Regions from separate parts of the Homo sapiens genome. Here all the other regions are linked to region 2. Evidence: promoter capture Hi-C in 16 types of primary human blood cells and fetal thymus (Javierre and others, 2016). All regions are on one chromosome and are shown on one strand. The core of a region is centred on a gene start or on the middle of the fragment in contact, and the rest is flanking DNA. Distances in the headings are between cores, read along the strand shown.

Evidence for each region. Contacts are between HindIII fragments. The CHiCAGO score rates a contact against its expected background, and 5 or more counts as called.
Region 1: a contact is called between the fragment with the promoter of RAB29 here and the fragment with the promoter of CTSE in region 2, in 3 of 17 cell types (M2 macrophages, M0 macrophages and M1 macrophages). The highest score is 6.1, in M2 macrophages.
Region 3: a fragment that was not itself captured here is called in contact with the fragment with the promoter of CTSE in region 2 in 1 of 17 cell types (naive CD8 T cells); the score reaches 5.5 in naive CD8 T cells.

The regions. Positions count from the first base shown.
Region 1 is chr1:205,773,054-205,777,127 of GRCh38, forward strand. It overlaps RAB29 (RAB29, member RAS oncogene family), which reads right to left and starts at 2,429. Exons shown (of 6, transcript NM_003929.3): 1 at 2,220-2,429; 2 at 1,780-2,033. The coding sequence starts at 1,903. RefSeq lists an enhancer at 1,294-1,343. The HindIII fragment of the contact is 8,570 bases long and covers 1-4,074 here.
Region 2 is chr1:206,022,035-206,026,391 of GRCh38, forward strand. It overlaps CTSE (cathepsin E), which reads right to left and starts at 1,861. Exons shown (of 9, transcript NM_001910.4): 1 at 1,690-1,861; 2 at 867-1,023; 3 at 116-233. The coding sequence starts at 1,757. The HindIII fragment of the contact is 10,319 bases long and covers 1-4,357 here.
Region 3 is chr1:205,838,768-205,843,126 of GRCh38, forward strand. PM20D1 (peptidase M20 domain containing 1) reads right to left here. Exons shown (of 13, transcript NM_152491.5): 7 at 3,909-3,984; 8 at 3,387-3,448; 9 at 3,044-3,122; 10 at 1,485-1,556. Among named protein-coding and RNA genes, the nearest start is that of PM20D1, 9.2 kb to the right of the region's middle. The HindIII fragment of the contact is 4,868 bases long and covers 1-4,359 here.

The DNA.
Region 1 (4,074 bases), core at 1,179-3,678, 250 kb before region 2:
CAGGTATTATCTTGGGCAAGAATGGAATAAATGGAAAAGGTCCCAGAGGAGTCCCAAGAAGAAGACACTGTGTGGATGTTGCTGAAGAGTCCTGCTGGAATCTACCACCAAGTCTGCAGGTGCTGAGACTCCTTAAGGCTGAGTAAGTATTCCATGGGGAAAGCCTTTTGGCTAAGGAGAGAAACAGAGTAATTTCTGAGGTTTGGAAATATTATCTTTCACATCTGTGACAGGAATCAAAGCTAAGGGAAATTTAGACTAAACACTGAAAAAAAAATTAGCCAATTATATTCTTTGCTAAAGGAAAACTACAGCAATTGTTAAAAATTAACTATTAATAGCAGGCCACTTTTAACCCAAATCCGTGAAATAGGGACCCTTATATTATTTAGGAGTGGGAGGGCAGAGCGGTCAGGATAGAGTGTCTGAAACTTTGAACCTTTAATTTTGCCAGACTTAAATTTTTTGTTCCTTTGTTTTTGAGACAGGGTCTCACTCTGTTGCCCAGGCTACAGTGCAGTGAGTGGTGCGAACGGGGCTCACTGAAGCCTCGACCTCCCCAGTTCAAGCAATCCTCTCGTCTCAGTTTCCCGAGTAGCTGGGACCACGGCTACTTTCTTCTTTAATTTTTGTAGAGGTGGGGGTCTTGCCATGTTTCCCATGGCTGGTCTCGAACTCCTGGGCTCAAGCAATCCTCCCGCCTCAGCCTCCTAAAGTGCTGGGATTGCAAGTATGAACCACGGTACTGGGCCCTACTGGGGGTTCTTAAGGAGAATGTTTTAATTGCAATGTAAATGTTTGTTAATTTCTTTTTAAACTTCCATATGAACAGGAGCACACATTTTCAATTTTTCCATTGGTACGAGTTTTCCCCCCTTGAAACAAGTTCTTTTAACAGAGAGAAATAAAATTTTAAGTTACTCTCCCCCATCACCAGCTCTTCCTAGCTAAATACCTTCTAATTAACAATAAGGCATTTCTGCCTCTGAAAAAATAGTTGAGTCCAAAGGCCACACCCGGGAAAGAAATGAATGAACTCGGTGTCCCCTTCCTCCCTACCTTCTCCAGTTTGAGGAAAAAAGTGGTGGGAAGATAGGTCAGAGAAGTGGTATATTTCACATTCTTGGAAGAATTCCTTGGTTACCTTTATTTAAGCAATCAACGGACAAAAACACAGCTCATCAGCCCTCATGGGCATCTGACTGCGTAGCCAAGGGGCTCGTTCGGGGATTTTGTGTCTTCCATCCCACCCACAGCCCCACAACAAAGCTACAGTCCTTCAGACCAGTTCCGCTTCCTGCGTTCTCCCACTGAAGCCAGGTTAAACACCTTGCGGTTCCTCCCTCAACAGAGGGGCAGGACTACAGCCCCAGCCGGCACCTAACCAGGAGGCCCCACAGAGGATCTCAGCTGCTTCTGCTGATTGGAGAGATTTGCCGGACAGCTGAAAGGCTGGAGACTTAAGTTCACAGTACGCCTGCAATAAACAGCAATTGCTCATCCTCATCCTCCCTTCCCTATTTCTCATCTTCACGCCTTTGCTCTTACCTTTCTCCTGGCAGTGGGCTCAGTTTGGGAAAATCTAACGGGAAACTCAAGAGAGGCGTGTAAACCAAACACCCGGCAATTACACCATCTAGGTTCCCAGACAGTACTTCCTGACCCGAAGAAGGACCCAACAACCGACAGCAAATCCCCACCCCACTTGGGTCCCCAGCTCGAGTCCGCGGTCGGGGCCTCCTCCTCCCCCTCCCCCTCCCCACCCCCGAGACGTCTCACCTCCCACCGTGGACTTGTAGTGTTTGCTGAAGCTGTCCTGGGAATATCGCTGCACCAGCGACGTCTTGCCCACTGCGGCGTCCCCCACCACCAGCACTTTGAACAGGTGGTCGCGGCTGCCCATGGCTAGCGGGGTGTGCGTTTTAGGGAGGCGGGAAGTGTGGTCGGGGATCGGGGGTCGCTCGTTTTAACCCCTTTGGATCCGGACCCTCTTCAAACTGAAGTGAGGCATTCCCACCCACCGCCTGTCTGGGCTGCTCTGACGAGAAAGCAAAAAAGGAAACTTTGCACTCAACCTATACGCGCTTCCTCCCCGGGCGGCCGCAACCTGGGTGGGGCGCAGGGCGCGAGCTCCGAGCCCCCGGCTGTTCGCACCTTCCCCACCCCCTCCTGGCCTGACTGCCGAGAAACTGGACCAGGCGCCGCGGAACCTCACCCACCGGGACTTCCCCCGAGCGGCTCCAAGTCAGTGACTGAATCCCAGTCAGCTCCTTACACCACTGGGGCCAGATGATGGGGACCCTCCCCTTGCAGCACAAACCAAATTGTGAGGAAGGAGCAGCCGGCACCTCGATTCCCTAGACGCCCTCCCGCGCGCCTCTCTCTCCCCTTCCTCCGCAAGCGTCACGTGCAGGGTTGCCTGTGGCACTACATTTCCCAGCTTTCCTCGCGGTAAAGAGAACCAGCCGAGTGCGGAGGCTCACCGCGAAGCCTCCTGGGAAATGTAGTATATTCGTTATTTTGTTTTAAGCAAACCTACACCAAGTTTCAAGGCTTCAAACTCCCTCGACAGTTTGGAATCTTATTTTGAAACAATTCTAGGTCAGTAAAGATCCCTTAAGGGGAGATTTGTGCAACGTGATCTCACTGGCCTGAATCCATCCCCAGATAGTTTTCTCCTGTCTTTAAAGGTTTAACTGAGTTAAGATTGAAACTTATTTCATTAGTAAAAGCCCAAGCCTCATCCATCATGCTCCAAGTGAAGTCCATTTCCTATTCCTTCAAGTAGATAGACAAGCCCAGGACTTTGTGAAATGACTCATATTTTCTGTGTGAACTTGCCCAATACCAGGCAAGTTCAGGAAAACTTGACCCAAGAGACCAGTCTTTGGAAAAAAACCTATGCCAAAAATTACAGCATTTAATATCCAGCAATAACAATAAAGATGGACAGAAAACAAGAGACAGTTCTCCATTCATACTTCTACAATGCCTATTCTAGCCATACTACTCATGTATCACTTGAGCTAGAAGCTAATTGAAATACACTGGGACTCCTTCTTGATTTGTTGTGGCTGTTGTTAATAGATAATCATAAAACTAGTGTTTGGCAAATAATTTTAATTTCTCAGCCTGTAACTTTACTGACCTACCTGTCACTTGGGTAGAAGTTGGCAGGACATGAGCTCAATGGCAAGCAAAGAGAGCTCCATTTTCTATACTTTTCTAGGAATAGAGGAAGAGAACCAGCGGGGCCATGGGAAAACAGCCCAGGACCAGACACTAGGAAATCTAGGTCTCTTGATAGAGAGGCTATCACTTATGTTTTGTGGCGAAAGAACATCAGCATGGTTCACAATATATTTTGCCCAGAATGTTCGTTACCCAGGTACAGGAGGTTAGTTCAAGCTACTCATCTTTAAGGATCCAGTTTTCTCTGTTCTTATTCGTTTTGACATAGTTGACCACTCCTTGACATTTGTTTCCCTTATGCCTTCTATGACGCTGTTCTTTCTTTGTCATCCCCGTACTTCTCTGATGATTATCTTTTTCTTTCAGGTTTCTCTCCATCCCATTTCCCGCTAAGTATTTCCTAAGGCCTGATTCTTGGTCTCTGAGTCAATCATTCGATAAACTCTTTAGTGAATTGTCCTTGGTGTCAAAGATCTATCTTCACTTTATTTGTTCTTTATCTCTGATCAGTGATATTCTGTCAAGACCAGCTCTGTTGGGGAGACCCTAACCCAGTGGCGCTAGAGGAATTAAAGACACACACACAGAAATATAGAGGTGTGAAGTGGGAAATCAGGGGTCTGATTTCCTTTAGAGCTTTTAGAGCTGAGAGCCCCGAACAGAGATTTACCCACGTATTTATTAACAGCAAACCAGTCATTAGCATTGTTTCTATAGATATTAAATTAACTAAAAGTATCCCTTATGGGAAACGAAGGGATGGGCCGAATTAAAGGAATAGGTTGGGCTAGTTAACTGCAGCAGGAGCATGTCCTTAAGGCACAGATCACTCATGCTATTGTTTGTGGCTTAAGAATGCCTTTAAGCGGTTTTCCACCCTGG
Region 2 (4,357 bases), core at 611-3,110:
TGTGGCAGGGATGGCCAGTTTCTGGAACCTAAGCCCCCCTTCCCCAGAGTACCAGGCTTGGCCTCCCAGGACTAGCCCCCAGACATTCTCTGCTGGTGCTCCTGGCCCCACTTACTGCAGGCTGGGCTAGTGCAGTACACAGAGGGGACCCAGAGGTTGGAGGAGCCAGTGTCGAAGATGACAGTGAAGTTCTGTGGTGGGGAGCCAATGGAGATAGTGCCGAAGTATTCCATCTGCAAGGAAGAGTGAGAAGGAAAGAGGGTGTGGGTGGTGGGGAGGGACAAGGGTGCTCACCAGGAAGCCAGGGGAAAGCTCCCAGGGGCCAGAGCCTGGGGTAATACAGACTGGAGTTTACAGAGCCTAGGAAGTGGCAACGCTGGAAAATAAAAGGTAAAAGGAGCAGAGAAATGGCCATGAAGGAGGAAATCAAACCAAGCCTCTGGCTACTTCATTTGATTTTACTTGCACTAACCTGATTCTTATAAATACATTGTAGGAGAGGCAGTGGAGGAAGAACCATCTGTTTTACAGACCAGGGAACTGGGGCTGGGAGAGGTTAAGTAACTTGCCTAAGGGTACACAGCCAGTAAGCTGCCCAGCTGAGAGCAGAAGCAGGGGCCTTCAGTGTGGGATGATGCTTTCACTCCCAGCCCTTTCCTTCTGCAGAGAACTCTGACATTTGGGTACATGGGGGCCTGCTTAGCCAACTCCATGGGGACCCAGGGAATCAGTCCCCATGGATCATCATCCAAGTGAAGAAATCCACAATGGCCTTCGGTGCTACTGATGTGGCACTGGCCATGCCCTAATGCTGGGCCTTCCTCCCGCTCCCACCTCTCCCCAGCCCTGACCCCAGGAGGCCTCACATCCAAGTAGTTGATGAGGGGTTCCTTGGCACTCTGGTCCATTGAGCAGGACTCGGTGAACTGGATCATGTCCAAATTATGGGATTTCCAGAACTCAGAGAGCTGGCTCCGTGCCCGCAGCTTCTTCTTGAGGGACGGATGCCTCCTGAGGGGCACCCTGGAGACAAACCCCCATGTAAGCAGGAGATGTACTTCTGCCTCCCTCTTCCCCCCATTCTCGTCCCATTTTCTCAGGGGCCAACTAGAGAAGATGGGGTGGGAGGGGGGGATCTGCAAGACAGCACGCAGGATACAGGTGGGATCAGCGTCCTCTCTGCCACTCAGCCTGCCCGGCCTCATCTCTGCCCTATAGAGTCTTAGAATCTTAGAGTGGAAATGGCTCCCCTCCTGGAGCTGAGGTCTTTGAGATCTAGGAAAATGGGAGATGTGGGGCGGTCTACAGTTTTACATGAACATCACGAAGGGCTGATTTAAAGGGACAGAAAAACTCTTGGGGACAGTGATGGTCAGTCCCCTGGGGAAGTCCTGGGGCGCTTTGAGCTACAAACCACAACTGCAGGTTCCTGCTCTTTTGCAACACAAGAAGACCCCTGGGACTTGGGAAGGCACCTCCGTGGAGGTGGAGGCAGGAGGATGACTTGTTGAGGACTGGAGATTAAGGCCATACACAGGCGGTCACTGGATGAGTCTCTTCCATGCATTGACGCAAGCCCTCAGCTTCTCCTCCTCTTCACCTCCCCATCAGCTTTCCTACCCCAGAGCAGCCCTGAGTTGCAGGGCATGGGACTACCCAGCTGAACACAGTGCGGGGACGTCTTCTCACCTGTGAAGGGATCCTTGGGCCTCTCCCAGCTCCAGGAGCACCAGCAGCAAAAGAAGGAGCGTTTTCATTGTGAGTCCGACCAGCAGCTTCTCCCTTGCCCCCTCCTTTCTTCTCTCCCCGAGGGCAGTGGGAACGGACTTTCCCTAACTCTCAGACCTGCCCAGCCCAGTCTGAGGGCCGAATGATAAGGCCCTGGAGTCATTAGCCATGCCCAGAGTAAATACGGCATGTGGAACAGGGCGTTCCCCCTGCACCTCTCCGTCCCTTTCCCACCTACAAGAGGAATATGAGTCTGCGGGGAGAACTTGGGAGTCCTCTGGGGCTTGGCTTCTCTCAGGGCTTTGGCACCTCCTCTGACCCCAAGAAACCCTGTTAATGAATCCGGAGGGCAGCACATGCCTGGCTGCCTGGAAAGGCCCACTGAACTCTTACTGCAAGTGCTCTAGCTGGAGACTCTGGAGGGGTGGGAGCTGACTTGTCATGGGTGGCAGGATTCTAACTCAAAATATTCGTCAGTCTGTTTTCTGGGTGATTCCTGTTCTCTCCTCAATCTCTCAAATGCTCCAAAGGCAGTTTATCCTTCCCTGGCCCACTTTGAAGCACAAACCAGCACTCCTCAAAGGCCCTGAAATGGGAAAATGTAGCTGCAGATTTATGGAGCCCACTCTCCTGACTCTAAGGACTTGATGAATCTGGGGCTGGGGCTCAGGGGTGTGTGGAGGAGAATGCAGGGGCAGCGAGGGAGGGTCAAGGGGGTCAGCGTCTACAGCAAGTGCCCGCATGAGTCTACTAAAGCGGCCATGACAAAGTACAGGGGGCTTAAACAACAGAAATTTATTTTCTCACTATTCTGGAGGCTGGAAGTCCAAGATCAAGGTGTTGGCAGACTTGGTTGCTTCGGAGGCCTCTCTCCTTGGCTTGCAGATGGCTGCCTTCTCTCTGTGTCTTCACATGGGTCTTCCCTCAGCGTGTGGCTGTGTCCACATCCACATTTCCTCTTCTTATAAGGACGCTAGTCATATTGGAGTAGGGCCCACCCTAATGACTGCGTTTACCCTTAATACCTCTTTAAAGACCCTATCTCCAAATACAGTCACGTTCTGAGGTACTAGGTGTTAGGACATCAACATGGATTTTGGAGGACAAAGTTCAGCCCTTAACAGTGCTCAGGGACAATAGGATCTTCTATCTGTCAAGTGGGACTAAGCGCAGGGGTGGAGAGTGGGTGGGGCTCAGGCCTTAGTTACCGCAGTGTGTGAAACCCCCTCACCATCAGCCTATCTCTGTGGCCACCCGCCTCATAAACAGATGGTGGGGCTTCAGTGCCTGGGGTGGGGATGAAGGGGTTACAGGTAGGAAGACCCTGACCCTGACTCAAGTTAGCCAGGGCAGCAGAGGCCACCACCATATGCCAATGCTTCCAGAGGGCACTAGCTCAGCAGTAGGAAGTAGATGGCCTGCGTTTAGGTTTAGCTCTGCCCTGACCAGCTAGTGTTCTGGAAAATCTCTTAAGTGCTATGGGATCTGCCTTTCATCTCTGAAGTTCAAATGGCAAGCAAACGTGGAGTATGGAGCTAAGCCAAACCCACCCTTGGGTCCAAAAATGTTAAAAAAAGACATCAAAAAGACTTAAGGAACAGCCTAGACCTTTGACCCCTGAACCCAAGGCAACAAAGCCTCTTTGGCATTTCCCAGGAGCCCGTCTTGTTGATCTTTCACTGGGGAGAGTGGTCTAAACCTAGAAGGGCAGCTTGAGTCAGAAGTGGCTAGAAGTGGAGATCATTCATTTTGGCAGTAAACTCTGCCATGTTTTGCCCGTAACTGCTTATTCACCACATACCTTAGTTTTGTCATCTGCCAAATACCTTACCTACATCAATGGGTTTTTAAGGAGGATTAAACAAACAAAATAAGGTACAGATATACTTGTTGTACTGCACTCTGCTTTACTGCACTTTGCAGATACTGCTTTTTTTTTTTAATTGAAGGTTTGTGGCAAACCTGTGTCAAGCAAGTCTATCAGCACCATTTTTCCAATACTGTGTGTTCATTTTGTGTCTCTGTGCCACATTTTGGTAATTCTTGCAATATTTCAAAGTTTTTCATGATTATTTTATCTGTTTTGGTGATCTGTACTCAGTGATCTTTGATGTTACTGTTGTAATTGTTTTGGGGTACCACAAACTGCACCCGTGTAAGACAGAGAATTTAATAAGTGTAATTGTGTGTTCTGATTGCTCCATTGCTCTACTAACTGGTCATTCCCCCATCTCTCTCTCTCCCTCTCTTTCTCTCCCCCTCGGGCCTTCCTGTTGCCTGAGACACAACAATATTGAAATTAGGCCAATTAATAATTCTACAGTGACCTCTAAGTGTTTAAGTGAGAGGAAGATTTGCATGTTCCTCATTTTAAATTCAAAGCTAGAAATTATTAAGCCTAGTGAGGAAGCCATGTTGAAAGCCAAGAAGGGCTGAAAGCTAGACCTCTTACACCAAACAGTTACCCAAGTCATGAATGCAAAGAAAAAGTTCTTAAGGGAAATTGAAGGTGATATTACAGGGAACACACAAATGATAAGAAAGCAAAATAGTTTTCTTGCTGATATGGAGAAAGTGTTATTGGTCTGGATAGAAGATCAAAGCAGTGACAACACTCCCTTAAGTCAAA
Region 3 (4,359 bases), core at 1,130-3,629, 180 kb before region 2:
CCCAATCTTAGTCAAAGGCATTAACTACTTGGTCAACTACCCAGGTTAAAAACCTTGGAGCCATCCTGCTTTTCTCTCGCTCCATACCCATATACATACCACATCCTATTGAACCCACCTCTCTCCCACCTCTGGTGGTTGCTCTCTTCTCCACCCCACGAGCATGGCCTCAGTCCAGACCTTCACATGCACTACCTAAGATGCTGAAATAGCTCTCTGTCTCCTTCTCTTCCAGCACTCCCTCTGCAATGCTGCTAGCATGACCTCTCTAAAAGCAAATCTGAGTATTTGGTTGAAGACCTCTAAAAGTTCTCTCCTGCCACAGATTTCACAGATTAGGGCCCAAACTCCTCAGCATAGCATACAAGGCCTAGATCCCTAAACTACAACTCCATTTCCTATCAGTTTTCATCTCCTATTACTTGTCCCCAGTTTATTCTATTCGTTAAGCCACAATGAATGTCTTACTTCTAGCCAAGTTCTGTTTTTCCTCTAAGGCCCAGTTCAACATTTTAGTAGTCAGAAAAGACTTTTTTGACCCTAAGAAGTAGCATGAATTTCTTTCTTTGCAGTGGTCCTATGGCAATTTGTTCACCTCTAATTTTTATAATCATAGTTTAGGGTTGTGGCTAAAAGCACAAACTCTGGAACTAGACTGCTAGATATATAATCTTGGGTATGCTGTTTGATTGCTCTGGTACTCTGTACCTCAATTTTCACCAGTTAAATGCAGATTTAGGGTGGGTAGTTGTGAGGATTAAAATGTATGGGTATACCTTAGAAAGGTGCCAAATATGGCTGGGTGTGGTGGCTCATGTCTGTAATCCCAACCCTTTGGAAGGCCGAGGCGGGTGGCTCACAAGGTCAGGAGATCAAGACCACTCTGGCTAACACGGTGAAACACCGTCTCTACTAAAAATACAAAATACAAAAAATTACAAAAATACAAAGTACAAAAAATACAAAAAATACAAAATACTGAAAATACTAAAAATTAGCCGGGCATAGTGGCACGTGCCTATAGTCCCAGCTACTTGGGAATCTGAGGCAGGAGAATCGCTTGAACCCGGGAGGCGGAGGTTGTAGTGAGCCAAGATCGTGCCACTGCACTCCAGCCTGGGCGACAGAGCAAGACTCTGACTCAAAAAAAAAAAAAAAAAAAAAAAAAAAAGAAAGGAAGAAAGGTGCCAAATACACAGCAAGCCTACTACACTACTACATATATATAATGTTATATATAATGTTTGTTACTATAGGTATTGCTATCATTTATTCATACTCATCTTCCATTTCAGACCCCATGTTTACCCAAACCCAGGATCTCCAATCCTAATGAAGTATCCGGTGCATAGGTTGTCTTTGAAAAATGTTGGTTGAATAAATGGGACACTGGACCAGCCCTAGGACTGTAGTTAAACCCGGGCCCTGAGGGCCACATCTCCCTGATGCTGCATGAGTTGTTGTCTGGAACATATGGTACATACCTCTTGGACTGTCTGTCCAGGGTGAATCCGGAAGTTGACTGTGGCCTGGGCCACTGGGGGGATGACATTGAACTAGAGAGAGAAGCACAAAACCCTGGCTTGAGTCAACCTCAAATCTTCTACATCTGCCTGCCCAGGAAATGCTAATTTCCTCAGCTCAGGCAGAGTTGGCTGATTTGACTTAAGGACCCAAGGCTTAGCTTTTCTAGTCTGCCTCTTGTCTTCTCTGAACTAAGTGACATGTTATATTCAGAGCTGAAGGGGTGTCTCTGCTTTAAGCCAGACCTTCCTGCTTCTTGGTGCTGCAGGGGGTCACAGAGATGTTCAGAGCAAGGCTGCTTTCTCTGATCACCCAGATATCTCTGTTTTGGCCCCATGCTGTGCTATTAGAAGCCTTCTGTGTGCACTTTCTTTCCCAGCACACCCAGGACATTTCTGCAGCTGTTAACATTAGTGCTTACTCACGATGGGGCAGCCAGAGCCTCTGTTGACCCCCATCATGGCATAGCACGGGGCTCACATCAGGTTTGATCCTTGAGGGGGATGAGAAGAACACATACTCCTCACATATTCCTGGTCAGGCAGGAACAAAAGAGTGACAGAAAAGTAACCTTCAGAGTAAGAAAAGGACCCTAGTGCTGGCCAGTGCTCTGCCTGTTCTCACCTATTCCCAGCCAGTGACTGAGCCAAGACAGAGGGATCTGGCTTGTTCTCTAGGGCTGTTAGTATGTTTCTGAGACCCTAAGACCTAACATAACCTTTGGGAGCTGGTTCCCTCTTATCCTTGAGGCTGCTGAGCAATTGTTCTAACCAATCAGATAAGCCAGTCAGGCAGTAATTGCCTCCCCATTCCCGACCTTCTAGCAGGGATTGGTGGTTTCCCAGGTCCAGTTGTAAAATCTGACTTTTTTGCCTGACCAGGAGGAATCCAGGACTAACTGGAGAAAAGAGTTAGGCTATGGAGGGATTGTTCCTTGGAGGCCGGGAGACTCCCCAAGTGCATATCTTTCTTTGAACTCGTATGGTGCAAAAAAGCACTAAGTGGTCAGGGACAGAGCTGGGCTGTTGCAAATTAGCTGTTGCAACCTCTTTGTGCCTCTGTTTTCTCAACTGGGTATTGGGGCAATACTCATAGGACTCTTAGAAGGCTCAGATGGAGTAACAAAGTATCCTGGGGAGATGAAAACACCATTCAAATGTCAGGACACAGTGCTATTATTCTGATGAACACTACAGCTGACACACTGGACGGTCCAGTGAGTTATGCCAGGAATTAATTCAGAGGCATCATTCACTTATATACCCGATTACTAGAGTGCTTCAAGGTCACATTGTACTCTAGGTGAATGGTGCCCCCTGAAGTTGTGCTGGTGGTACTGGCAGTTACAAGAATGGTCTAACTCCCTTCAAGATTTCAGAAAGGCCTATGTCTTTGCGTGGCTAGGCTTGGATCCAGCTGACACACACAGAAGGAAGGAAGAGCCAGTAGATAGATTCAAGGAAGGGAGGAGTGGAGGGCGGTAGGGAAAAGCTATATGGGGAGGAACCAGGGATGTTACCTTGACCCCTGCTTTGAATATGGTGAGTGCCGTGGTGGTCCTGATTATTGCATTGGTTAAGGGATTTCTCTCCATAAACCTAAAACAAAAGGACCAAGGTCAGATGTTAGAAAGAACCAATGGGGTGAAGGAAAGGGCGGAAACATTACCCACTTTCCTGAACCTTGGGGATCTTTAAGACTGAGAGAGACGTCTTAGAGATGTCTTAAATATACACACTTAGAGATGCAGTATCTGGTGGCTGAGGGATGATTAGTCAGGCCCAGTTAAGCCAAGGAGAGGGGCCTGGGGGGTGGGTAGGTTTGAGGTGAGGGATGTGAAAAAAGGAAAGATAATACTTTACCTGCTTATAAGTGGTTCAAATAGCCATGGGTTGCTCAGGATTATATTGACAGGGAAGGGAAACTGGGAAAGAACAAGGTCAGCACCACAGGGTCACCTCTAGTTTAGCCTGGGTCTCTGAGACCTGAGTCTCTCTCTACTTTAGAGCTGCCTCAGGGGCCCTTAGCAGTCAGGAGTGCTGCTAAATTCAGTTAGCTCAATCCCTGCTAGAGGATCAGGAATAGGGAGGCAATTACTGTCTGGCTGGGCTTATCTGGTTGGTTAGAACAATTGCTTAGCAACCTCAAGGATAAGTGGGAACCAGCTCCCAAAGGGTAGATTAGGTCTTAGGGTCTCAGAAACACACTAACAGCCGTAGAGAACAAGCCAGATCCCTGTGTCTTGGCTCAGCCACTGGCTGGGAATAGGTGAGAATAGGCAGAGTGCTGGACAGTACTAGGGTCCTTTTCTTACTCTAAAGGTTACTTTTCTGTCCGTCTTTTGTTCCTAGCTGATTAGGAGTATGTGATACTTCTTCCCATACCTCATTTGCCAGTTGCTGCAATACAGTCACCACTGTCCCGCTTCCAAATATGATAGGCATTGGTGTCTGCTCCAATCTGGAAGAGAAACAGAGTCCTCAAGACTTAGCGAACCCCAGCCAAAGATCAGTGGCTTGAAGAGGAGAAGAAGGGAGATAGGAGGAAGTTTCAACGCTCCTGGCCAAGAGGTCTCTCATTCACCTCCCTCCCACCTCCACCAACTCAACATTCTGAAGATCTCAAAACATCCCCAGGAGCTTTCCCTGTCTACCAAGTCTGCATTAGGGTCCTTCTTTCCTCCCTCTGCTGTTCTCTAGAATCCTGTGTGTCCACTCTCATAGCCCATCCCATACTACAGCAGAATTGTCAGTCTCCTGACAATTTGAATGAATATAGCACTCCTTCCCACTTTGCTAAGAAAACCCAGCCAGGAGTAAGCTCTGCTGTTACAGA